Regions from separate parts of the Homo sapiens genome. Here all the other regions are linked to region 3. Evidence: promoter capture Hi-C in 16 types of primary human blood cells and fetal thymus (Javierre and others, 2016). All regions are on one chromosome and are shown on one strand. Each heading gives the region's core, a stretch centred on a gene start or on the middle of the fragment in contact. The rest is flanking DNA. Distances are from core to core; before and after follow the strand shown. Region 1 has its middle 14 kb from the start of TAS2R40. Region 2 overlaps CLCN1 (chloride voltage-gated channel 1). Region 3 holds the start of TAS2R41 (taste 2 receptor member 41).

Evidence for each region. The method cuts DNA at HindIII sites, captures the fragments that hold promoters and counts their contacts. A CHiCAGO score of 5 or more calls a contact.
Region 1: a fragment that was not itself captured here is called in contact with the fragment with the promoter of TAS2R41 in region 3 in 2 of 17 cell types (M0 macrophages and M1 macrophages); the score reaches 6.0 in M0 macrophages.
Region 2: a contact is called between a fragment that was not itself captured here and the fragment with the promoter of TAS2R41 in region 3, in 1 of 17 cell types (M1 macrophages). The highest score is 5.0, in M1 macrophages.

What each region holds. Positions count from the first base shown.
Region 1 is chr7:143,234,056-143,237,479 of GRCh38, reverse strand. No RefSeq gene overlaps it. Among named protein-coding and RNA genes, the nearest start is that of TAS2R40, 14 kb to the right of the region's middle. The HindIII fragment of the contact is 1,142 bases long and covers 880-2,021 here.
Region 2 is chr7:143,334,129-143,337,466 of GRCh38, reverse strand. The region is part of intron 12 of CLCN1 (chloride voltage-gated channel 1); the gene reads right to left. Among named protein-coding and RNA genes, the nearest start is that of CLCN1, 20 kb to the right of the region's middle. The HindIII fragment of the contact is 1,801 bases long and covers 444-2,244 here.
Region 3 is chr7:143,475,976-143,479,682 of GRCh38, reverse strand. TAS2R41 (taste 2 receptor member 41) reads right to left here and starts at 1,810. Exons shown (of 1, transcript NM_176883.2): 1 at 887-1,810. The coding sequence starts at 1,810. The coding sequence ends at 887. All of the region lies in intron 2 of EPHA1-AS1 (EPHA1 antisense RNA 1), which reads right to left. The HindIII fragment of the contact is 17,498 bases long and covers 946-3,707 here.

The sequences.
Region 1 (3,424 bases), core at 201-2,700, 240 kb after region 3:
GAAATAAAGCCAAAGCAATCTACCCAACTGAGACTACAGATAAATCCACAGGAAAAAATATTTCCTTATTAAAGCTATTTAATTAAATTAGAAGAAGTGACTGTTGTGCCAGATGCACAGATATCAACATAAGGACACAAGAAACATGAAAAAGCAAAGAAACATGATGCCTCCAAAGGAACACAATAATTCTCCAATAACAGACCCCACAGAAAAGGAAATCTATGAAATGTCCAAAAACGAATTCAAAATAATGATCTTTAGGAAACTCAGCAAGATACAAGAGAACACAAATAGGGAATACAAAGAAATAAGGAAACAATTAATGACCTGAATGAGAAATTTGAAAAGGAATAGCTATAATAAAAAAGCCAAATAGAAATTTCAAAACTGAAGAATTCAATGAATAAAATAAAAGTACTGTTGAGAGCTTCAGCAATAGACTAGATCAAGCAGAAGAATTTCTGAACTTGAAGACAAATATTTTGAAATAGCCCGGTCAGACAAAAAGATATAAAGTACAAAAAAAGAATAAAAGGAATGAAGAAAACCTACGTGACATATGGGACACCATTAAGTGAACAAATATTTGCATTTTGAGAGTTTCAGAAGACATGGGAAAAGGCACAGAAAATGTATTTAATAAAAGAATAGTTGAAAACTTCCTAAGTCATGTGAGAGATACAGACATCCAGATAAAGGAAGGTCAAACATTCCCAAATAGATTCAACCCAAAAAGGTCCTCTCCAAGGCACATTTTGGTTAAACTGTCAAAAGGCAGAGACAAAGAGAGAATTCTAAAAACAGCAAGAGAAAAGTGTCAAGTCACATATAAGGGAATCGCCATCAGACTAACAGCAGATTTTTTCAGCAGAAGCTTTACAGGCCAGGAGAGAATGGGATGACATATTCAAAGTGCTGAAAGAAAACAAAACAAAACAAAAAACCAAATGGCTACCCAGAAATACTATGCCCAGCAAAGCTATCCTTCACTAATGAAGGAGAAGTAAAGTCTTTCTCTGACAAGCAAAAACCAAGAGAATTTATCACCACTAGACTTGCCTTAAAGGAGTCCTACATCTGGGAGTGAAAGGACAATAACTACCATCTTGAAAATACACAAAAGTATAAAACTCACTGGTAGATCAGATACATGAATGAGAGAAAGAAAGGAATCAGACATTATCAGTACAGAAAATCACCAAAGTCAAAAACATAAAAGAGACAAAGAAAGTCATTATAAAATGATAAAGGAACCAATTCAGCAAGAGGACATACAATTGTAAATATATATGCACTGCACACTGGAGCACCCAGATATATAAAGCAAATGTTGTTAGAGCTAAAGAAAGAGAGATAGGTATCAATACAATAATAGGTAAGAACTTCAGCAGACCACTTTCAGCTTTGGACAGATTCTCTAGACAAAATCAACAAGAAACATTGGACTTAAACTGTTCTGTAGACCAAATAGACCTAATAGACATTGACAGAATGTTTCATCCAACAGCAGCAGAAAATAATTTTCATCAGCACATGAAACATTCTCTGGGATATACTGTATGTTATGCCACAAAACAAATCTCAAGAAATTTTAACAAATCAAAATAGTATTGAGTATCTTCTAAGGCTACAATGAAACAAAACTCTAAAACAACAAGAGGAACTTCAGAAACTGTATAAATACATGGAAAGTAAGCAATGTCCACTCAAACAAACGTGGATCTATGAAGCAATAAGAAGGAAGTAAATTTTTTTTGAAACAATGAGAATAGAAACAAAACATACCAAAACCTATGGGATACAGCAAAAATATTACTAAGAGAGAACTTTATAGCAGTAAATGCCAACATCAAAAAAGTAGAAAGAGTTTGAATAAACAACCTCAAAATGTATCTCATGGAAGTAGAGAAGCAAGAATGACCCAAACTTAAAATTAGTAGAAGGAAAGAAATAATACAGGTCAGAATAAAACTAAATAAAATAGAGACAAAAATACAAAAGATTAACAAAATGAAGCTTGTCTTTTTGAAAAGATAAAGTCAACGAATCACTAGCTGGACTAAGAAAAAAGAGGGAAGAAATAAAATCAGAAACAAAAAAGGAGACATTACAACTGATACCACAGAAATGAAAAAAGATCATTAGAAATTATTATAAACAACAATACATCAACAGACTGAGAAACCTAGAGGAAATAAGAAAATAGATAAATTCCAGGACACATATAACCTACAAAGATTGAACCAGGAAGAAATAGAACACCTGGACAGACTAATAATGAGTAATGAGATTTAATCAAACCTCTTTTTCTTTATAAATTACCCAGTCTCAGGTATTTCTTCATAGCAATATGAAAATGGACTAATGCAGTCATGTATTGTTTGATAATATGTAAGAAGACTTAATCAAACCTCTTTTTTTTTGAGATGGAGTCTTGCTTTGTCACTCAGGCTGGGTGTGACCTGAGCTCCCTGCAACCTCTGCCTCCTGGGTTCAAGCGATTCTCCTGCCTCAGCCTCTTGAGTAGCTGGGATTACAGGCACCCGCCACCACCCCTGGCTAATTTTTGTATTTTTAGAAGAGATGGGATTTCACCACGTTGGCCAGGCTGGTCTTGAACTCCTGACCTCAGGTGATCCTCCTGCCTCAGCCTCCCAAAGTGCTGGAATTACAGGCGTGAGCCACCATGCCCGGCTCAAACCTCTTTTTCTTTATAAATTATCGAGTCTTGGGTATTTCTTCATAGCAGTATGAAAATGGACTAATACAGTCACATATTGTGTAATAAAAAGTCCCCCAACAAAGAAAAGCCCAGGGCAGAATGGCTTTACTGGTGAATTTTCCTAAAATTTTAAAGAAGAACTGACATCAACTTTTCTCAATCTATTTTGAAAAATTGAAGAAGAGGGAATTTTTCCTAACTCATTCTAATAGGCCAGCATTATCCCGATACCAAAGCCGGACAAAGGCACAACAAAAAAGGAGAAAACAACAGGCAATATCCTTGATGAACATAGATGCAAAAGTTCTCAACAAAATATTAGGGAACTGAATCCAACAGCACATCAAAAAGATAGTATACCATGATGAAGTGGGCTTTCCCAGGGATGCAAGAATGTGTCAACAGAGGCAAGTTAATAAATGTGATACATCACATCAAAAGAATGAGAGACAAATGCAATATGATCATCTCAACAGATGCAGAAAAAGCATTTGATAAAATTAAACCTCCATTCATAATGAAAACTCTCAACATAGGGACTTGAGAGCTTAGGAATTGAAGGAACATACCTGAATTATATATAGAAGGAACATACCTCAACACAATAAAGGCCATATATGACAAACCCAAAGCTAACATCCTACTGAATGAGGAAATGCTGAAAACTTTTCCTCAAAGAACCAGAACAAGAGAAGGATG
Region 2 (3,338 bases), core at 95-2,594, 140 kb after region 3:
CTAAGAAAGTCTCATCCCAGAAGATCTGAGATGAGGCAAAACACACACTCCTTCATGTCAGAATATGACTATTCAAAAACAGTTGAGAACTATAAAAATGAATGGGCAAAATGAAGAGAATAGAGACTGAGAATCCCCTGAGGACAGAGAGTGCATCTTGTCCTTTCTGCCTTCTCTCTGCACTGGCACAGTGCTCAGTAAATGTAGGAAGGGTGTAGCTAGGTGAGTAGGTAGAAAGGAAGGAAGGAAAGAACGAAGATGGGCTGAACAAATAGTATTCATGCAAAGGAGGAAAAGCTTCTCAGAGCTAATATTTGCTAAAACACTAAAGAGTAATGCTCATCCAGGGGAACTTGCTTTAAAATGCAGATGACCAGACCCCACTGGAAGCTACCACATCAGATTGTCTGCAGATAGGGCTATAGGCACTTGTAATTTAAGCTTCTTAAGTGATTCTGACATTTAACAGTTGGACTGAACTATCCTGTACCATCTCTTTGAAATAAGTACATAAAAGCCATAAGAGATTTTGTAGGCTCAGGTTAATCTGAAAGCTCTAGCAATTCATATAACAGGTAACCAATAGGTCTGATTTCAGAAGATGTATTTTAGATTATCCTCCAAGATATGTGTAAGAACAGTATTACAATCAGAAGACATTGAAGTTATCAACTCCTATAGCACAAAGGTTGACACATGAGATTAACAAACTTTTTTAGCTATTGGCACGTGAAAGAAAAGATCCAGAAGTAATGTGAAACACAAATAACTCCCAAGACTTTCTTCTTTCTCTTTCTTTCTTTCTTTCCCTTCCTTCCTTCCTTTTTTTTTCTTCTTCTTCTTTTTTTTTTTTTTTTTTTTTGACAGAGTCTTGTTCTGTCACCCAGGCTGGAGTGCAATGGTGTGTCAGCTCACTGCCACCTCTGGCTCCCGCGTTCAAGCAATTCTCCTGCCTCAGCCTCCCGAGGAGCTGGGATTACAGGCGCCTGCCACCACGCCCAGGTAATTTTTGTATTTTTAGTTGAGACAGGGTTTTGCCATGTTGGCCAGGCTGGTCTCAAACTCTTGACCTCAGGTGATCCGCCTGCTTTGGCCTCCCAAAGTGCTGGGATTACACCCAGCTTTTTTTTTTTTTTCTTCAGATCTAGACCTACAGAACTACCACGATTTTAAACACTCAATTTCAGGGAACTGGAAAACTGGAAACCCATTATGGGTTTCCACCATATTTAGACCCTTCATTAGAAGGAGTAAAATGAAGAATTCACTTCGGGAGAATGAAGTGAAAGGAGTGAAAAAAAATTCAACAGAGCCTCAGGCTGTGCAGAGAACTTAGTGATACTAGGTAACAATGTTAGACTTATTAAAAGCAAACTGAGAATTTGGAATGGTATTCATACTCATTGTAAAAGCTCTTCTCTTGATGTATAATGTAATGACACTTTCCACGTCATGAGATTAAGGAAGATGGAAGTTCTCTTCATTAATATTATAAAACAGCTGAATTGGCCAGGTGCGGTGGCTCACGCCTGTAATCCCAGCACTTTGGGAGGCTGAGGCGGGCAGATCATGAGGCAAGGAGATCGAGACCATCCTGGCTAACAAGGTGAAACACCGTCTCTACTAAAAATACAAAAAAATTAGCTGGGCGTGGTGGCGGGCACCTGTAGTCCCAGCTACAGGTAAGGCTGAGGCAGGAGAATGGCGTGAACCTGGGAGCCGGAGCTTGCAGTGAGCCGAGATTGTGCCACTGCACTCCAGCCTGGGCTACAGAGTGAGATTCCGAATCAAAAAAAAAAAAAAAACAAAACAGCTGAATTGAGAATCTTACCTGCCTGTACAGATGCTGCTAGAAGACCACATAGACTACATTTCAAATTAGGCACTGGAAAAATTGTTTCAGTCATGTTTATATTTTAGTTTAGCTATGTATCCTACCTAGCTAAAAAATAAGAGTATGGTTATTGTGTCCAATGATTAGACAGTGAAAATGCTGGGAAGTGGTGATAACCAGGGAATATCATAGATTTGTAGCAGTGAATGGTTTTATGTTCGTAAATATTATAGGATATTATAGGCCTGCTGCAAACTGTTAGGCTTGAAATATAGCCCAGGAAGTATATGTTTCTTTTCCTGATACAGTATGATGTAACATTATCAAGGATATAATCTAGTGAGAAATTAATAATTGTGGCATACAGGTGAGTCCTCTATATCATCTAAGTAGGTTTCTCAAAATAAGCTTGAATTTGCGAAGTGGAATCCAGACATATACTTGGGAATCTGGAGAGCTGGGATGAGGTTTGGCAGAAATGTTGAAAAATATACAGTATTTCGTTTCTACAGGACTTTTCAAAATCTTGATATTTTAAAGGTACATACGATGCCAATGTTGCCGTATAGCTCAGTCTAGAGGAATCTCAGAAAAATACAGTTATCATCATTGGACTACCGTCCAATTCTGAGATCCACCAAAATTTGTACTTGGTTACTGTAGATGGGTTTGTGTACTCAACAACTAATTATAGGAGGTTGGGATTTATAAATTAGAGAAGATGAACTCTATAATGAAAGTCTAAAAATCAAATCCCTAACAAGACACTGAAAACTTCTTTCATGATAAAAATGTAAAATCTTTTGAAGAAAGACATTTTAAAGGGATTAAATTAATAAAGTGAATGTGCAAAATATGAATGCTGTAGATTCAACTAAACCACCTAAAGTGGAATGGGGAAGATCATTTGCAAATACAGTTTCTAGACACCCTGGGAATATGTTACAGAGTTGAAATCTGGTGTTTCACGTATCTGCTGTCTCTAGTCTTAACATCACTAAAAAATTAAATTAAATAAACAGCAAAAAATAGAACGTTTTAAAATATTTAAAAATTTTTTTTCTGTTGCAAGCATAAGATATAGCTAAAGGTTAATGATGAAATATTATGTACTTGGCACATAGTAAATGCTTAATAACATTTATTGAACAAATGAACTCATGAACCCACTGTAGCTATTGCAATATAAATATAACTTGGTGACTCATATCCTGGGAAAACATAGATTTATAAAAGGTATCATAAATAAGTTAATAGCAAGGTATTCAAAAGCTTGAAAGTTCAGTATGAACAGACTTATAAATGAGAACTCTAATATACAGAGGAAAGTGTTGTGTTATTTAGGCAAGACATACTATTAGTAAAAAAGATAATCATCACAAAAGAAAAAAAAGGGCAATCAATAATTTTTTTTTTTTTCTTGAGGAGTGTTGCCCTTGTCGCCCAGGCTGGAGTGCAATGGCACAATCTTGGCTCACTGCAACCTCCGCCTCCTAGGTTCAAG
Region 3 (3,707 bases), core at 561-3,060:
GAACTCCTGAGCTCGAGCAGTCTGCCTGACTCAGCTTCCCAAAGTGTTGGGATTACGGACGTCACCACTCCCAGTCCAGTGAAATTCCTGAGTCTGTTTTTCAGATTGAAAAGTACATGTTTATTCAATGCAGATGTGACTCTGTGACATATGCTTGAGGAAGACAAGAAAGTCACAATGTGTCTTTTTCTAAAGGAATGATAAACAAGAAAAAAGTCTGGCTACTACTCAGACTTCAGAGAAGAGAAAATTGAAGTCAGAAATGTTAATGAGAAAAGAAACTGGGTGGTGTAAAGAAACCTTCCAGTAAACTTAATAAAATTAAAACCAGATTATCCAAGTTTGTGTGGAGACAAAGTATCTTCATGCAGTAAAGGGCAATCAGAACTCACAGCCCAGGCCACTGCCTGCCACAACTGCCTGTCCCTTGGGGCTCTCGTAGTAACCATGACATTTGTCCTCAAGAAGGCTGTCGCTTCACTATCCACATCTCAGTTCAGCCATAGAGGCAAATATTTGCTCTTAACTTTCTGAAAGGCAGTGGAGATGCGATGGCACAGTTAATCAACACTTTTAATCGAAGCCTTCCAGATAACAAAGGGGTACAAACGTAAGGAGTAGCACGACATCATATTAACATATTCTGAACTTCTGGGCAATACTGGCTCTCTGGGATCCATGGGACTGCATCTTTATAACATTCCAAAGAAGGGAAGCATGCTCAGAGAGTTCCCAGATTTCCTTGTCTCCTCCGCTTCCCAGAGGAGGAGCCCCATAACAGTACCCAGTATTCATCTACCTATGAAAACACCTCCATGTCAGTGGGCCACAGCTCTGCCATCCTCACCTTTCTTTTCCGGGGGTCTAGATAAGGAAACCATGCCATCTAGGCCACCCAGAAGCCCCTTGCCAACAACAGGAGCTGCGAGAACACGCTTCGAAGCTTGAGGTTGCTGAAGATGAGGATGAAGGGATGGACAGATATGCACAGGTAGACTGCAATTTGCCATGGCCAGTAAAAGTCGTTCTGCATGGAGATAAATTTTGCGGCATCAATGATCAGGGACAGAAAGGACAGAGCATAAAGAATGAGGAAGGAGATGAGGGACTTCAGAGCTCTGGTGTGAGCCTGGGTGCTGGGGTCCTGCAGGCTGTGCCCGTTGTGCTGCATTCTCTGAGTATGCCTCCTCAGAGAATTAATTAACAGCATAATTGAGACCAGAAAAACAGAAAAAGGAATTGACCAGATGACCAGTTTCAGGGATGGGAAATAGTATGTTTCTATCCTTGTATTCCACTTGTAGGTCATGTTCCCAGAAAATTTTCTAATTAAAAATTCTTGATATACAGGGTAGTTCACCCAAAAAAACAGCAGGGTTATGATGAAGGAGATCAGGACAGAGCCCAACAGGAGCCAGGGCACCCACCCTGGGAACCTCCACTTCAGCCACAGGAAGGTGGAGTGTGTGATGTTAGCAATCTTCACACAGAACAGGACACTGAGCCAGCTGCAAAACCAGAAGGTGGCTGAGTTCAGGAAGTGCCAGTGTAGATGGAAGAACTGTCGGCCGAGACCCCCAGAGTACTCGACCTTCTGGGCAGAGTAGTAGAAGTTGTGCACCGTCCCAACCAACTGCAGGCAGAAGCGGGAGGCACCCAAGCTAATGAGGATCATATCCAAGGGCAGCAACCTGCCATATCGCAGCCACTCCCTGCCCAGCACCAGCACAATGAAGCCATTCGCTGCAATCCCCAGAAGACTCAGCAGGCTAAAGAGCAACACGAAGAAGGCCGTCAGTGCTGCTTGCATTCTGACCCCTCCTGCAGTCCCCACTTGAGTGCCTTGGTCCCTGGCCTCCTCCCTGCCCCTAGCCACAGTCCTGTTTTTAATCTTTCCTAGGAGTGCTAAAGAGTGGTCAGGCTCTGCATCTGAACCAGAGCTCACTTAGAGAGGAGGATGCTCAGGCTAAAGAGGAGAGGTGTGCTCTTGGCTCAGACAGGATGCAAATTTATCCTAGTGTCAGTTACCACTAGGCCTGCAAATTACCCTAATTTGCCTTGTCCAGTTTTCCTGCATGCTGCCATGGTTAGTATCAATGTCTATGATTTTTCTGGGTCTCTGTGACTGAGTTCCATCCTCAGGCCGTATGAACACTCCTCTTCCCATCAGAACATTCTTAAGACTTTAAATATAGAGACAAGTATAGGAGATACACAGGAAAAATAGTGACATCAAAGAATTCTGTCTCAGTACTTCCCTGTTACACATCCATGCTTACCTTACTGCCTTTGCCCACAAATCGCTTCAAAATCAAACACTTCGTCTACCTCTCCATCCAGATCTCTACTTAGATCCTCCATGAATCCTGAGATGTAAATGATAATGGTGTAAACGGGTTTTGTATTTCCAGTGAGAGAATTCATTATCATGTGGTTGAGGGGCCTTCCGAAGCAGGACTGAGAGCCCCTGTTTCTTCCTGGGTGTTGGTGGGAGACTGCTCTCTGGTCCTAGAGGCCTCTCACAGTCTCTGCCAGGTAAGCTGTTTCAGCATGGCCACTCACGTCAAGTCAGCAGTCTCTAAAGGGAGTCTGCTAACAAGATGGGGTCTTAAATAACATAACACAATCATTGGAGTGACAGCCTATCACCTTTGCCATAGTCTATTGGCTAGAAGCAAGTCACTGTCACCAACAACACTCAAAAGAAGGAGGTTACACAAAGGCCCAACACCAGGGTTGAGGGACAGGCAGGGCCACTTTACAGTCTGTCTGCCACCCTGAGATACCCGAGGCATATGTGAGTCCTGTCTAACACCAACATCAAAAAGAAGTCCCTATGAGACCATGTTGAAAGTAAAAATATTTTCTTTTAAAATATATCTATCACCTCACATAATTCCTGTTTTCAATTTCTTCATGTGTAGTGAGAACACTTAAGATCTACCCTCTCATGAAAGTTCAAGTATACAGTGCAGTATTGTTTACTATACTCATACTACCATACCTTAGGTTTCCAAAGCATGTTCACTTAGCATAACTGAAACTTCATACCCCTTGACCAATATCTCCCCATTTCCCCTTCCAGAACCCTGGCAACCACCAATCTACTCTCTACTTCTGTGGGTTTGTTTTTTCAGATTCCACATGTAAGTGAGATCGTACAATATATGTATTTCTGTCTCTGGAGCATTTCACATAGCATAATGTCCTCCAGTTCCATCTACGTTGTTGCAAATGGCAGAATCGCCTTTTCTAAGACTGAATCATATTCCATTGTGTATGCACACCACATTTTCTTTGTTCATTCATCTGTTAATGGGCTTTTAGATTGTTTCCATGTCTTGGCTATTGTGAATAATTTTCAATGAACATGGGAGTGCAGATATCTCTTCAAAATACTAGTTTCATTTCCTTTGCATATACACCTAAAAGTGGAATTACTGGATAAGGTAGGTCTGTTTTTAATTTTCTGAGAAATCTTTATAGTGTTTTCCATAATTTATATTCCTGTCAACAGACTGAAAGAGCTGCTTTTCTCTGTATTTTTGCCAACACTTGTTATCCTTCATCTTTTTGGTAACAGCCATTCTAACACATGTAAGATGATACCTCATTGTGGTTTTGATTTGCATTTCTCAGGTGATTTGTGATATTAAACATATTTTCATGAACGATTTTTGTCTTCTTTTGAGAGATGTTATTCAGGT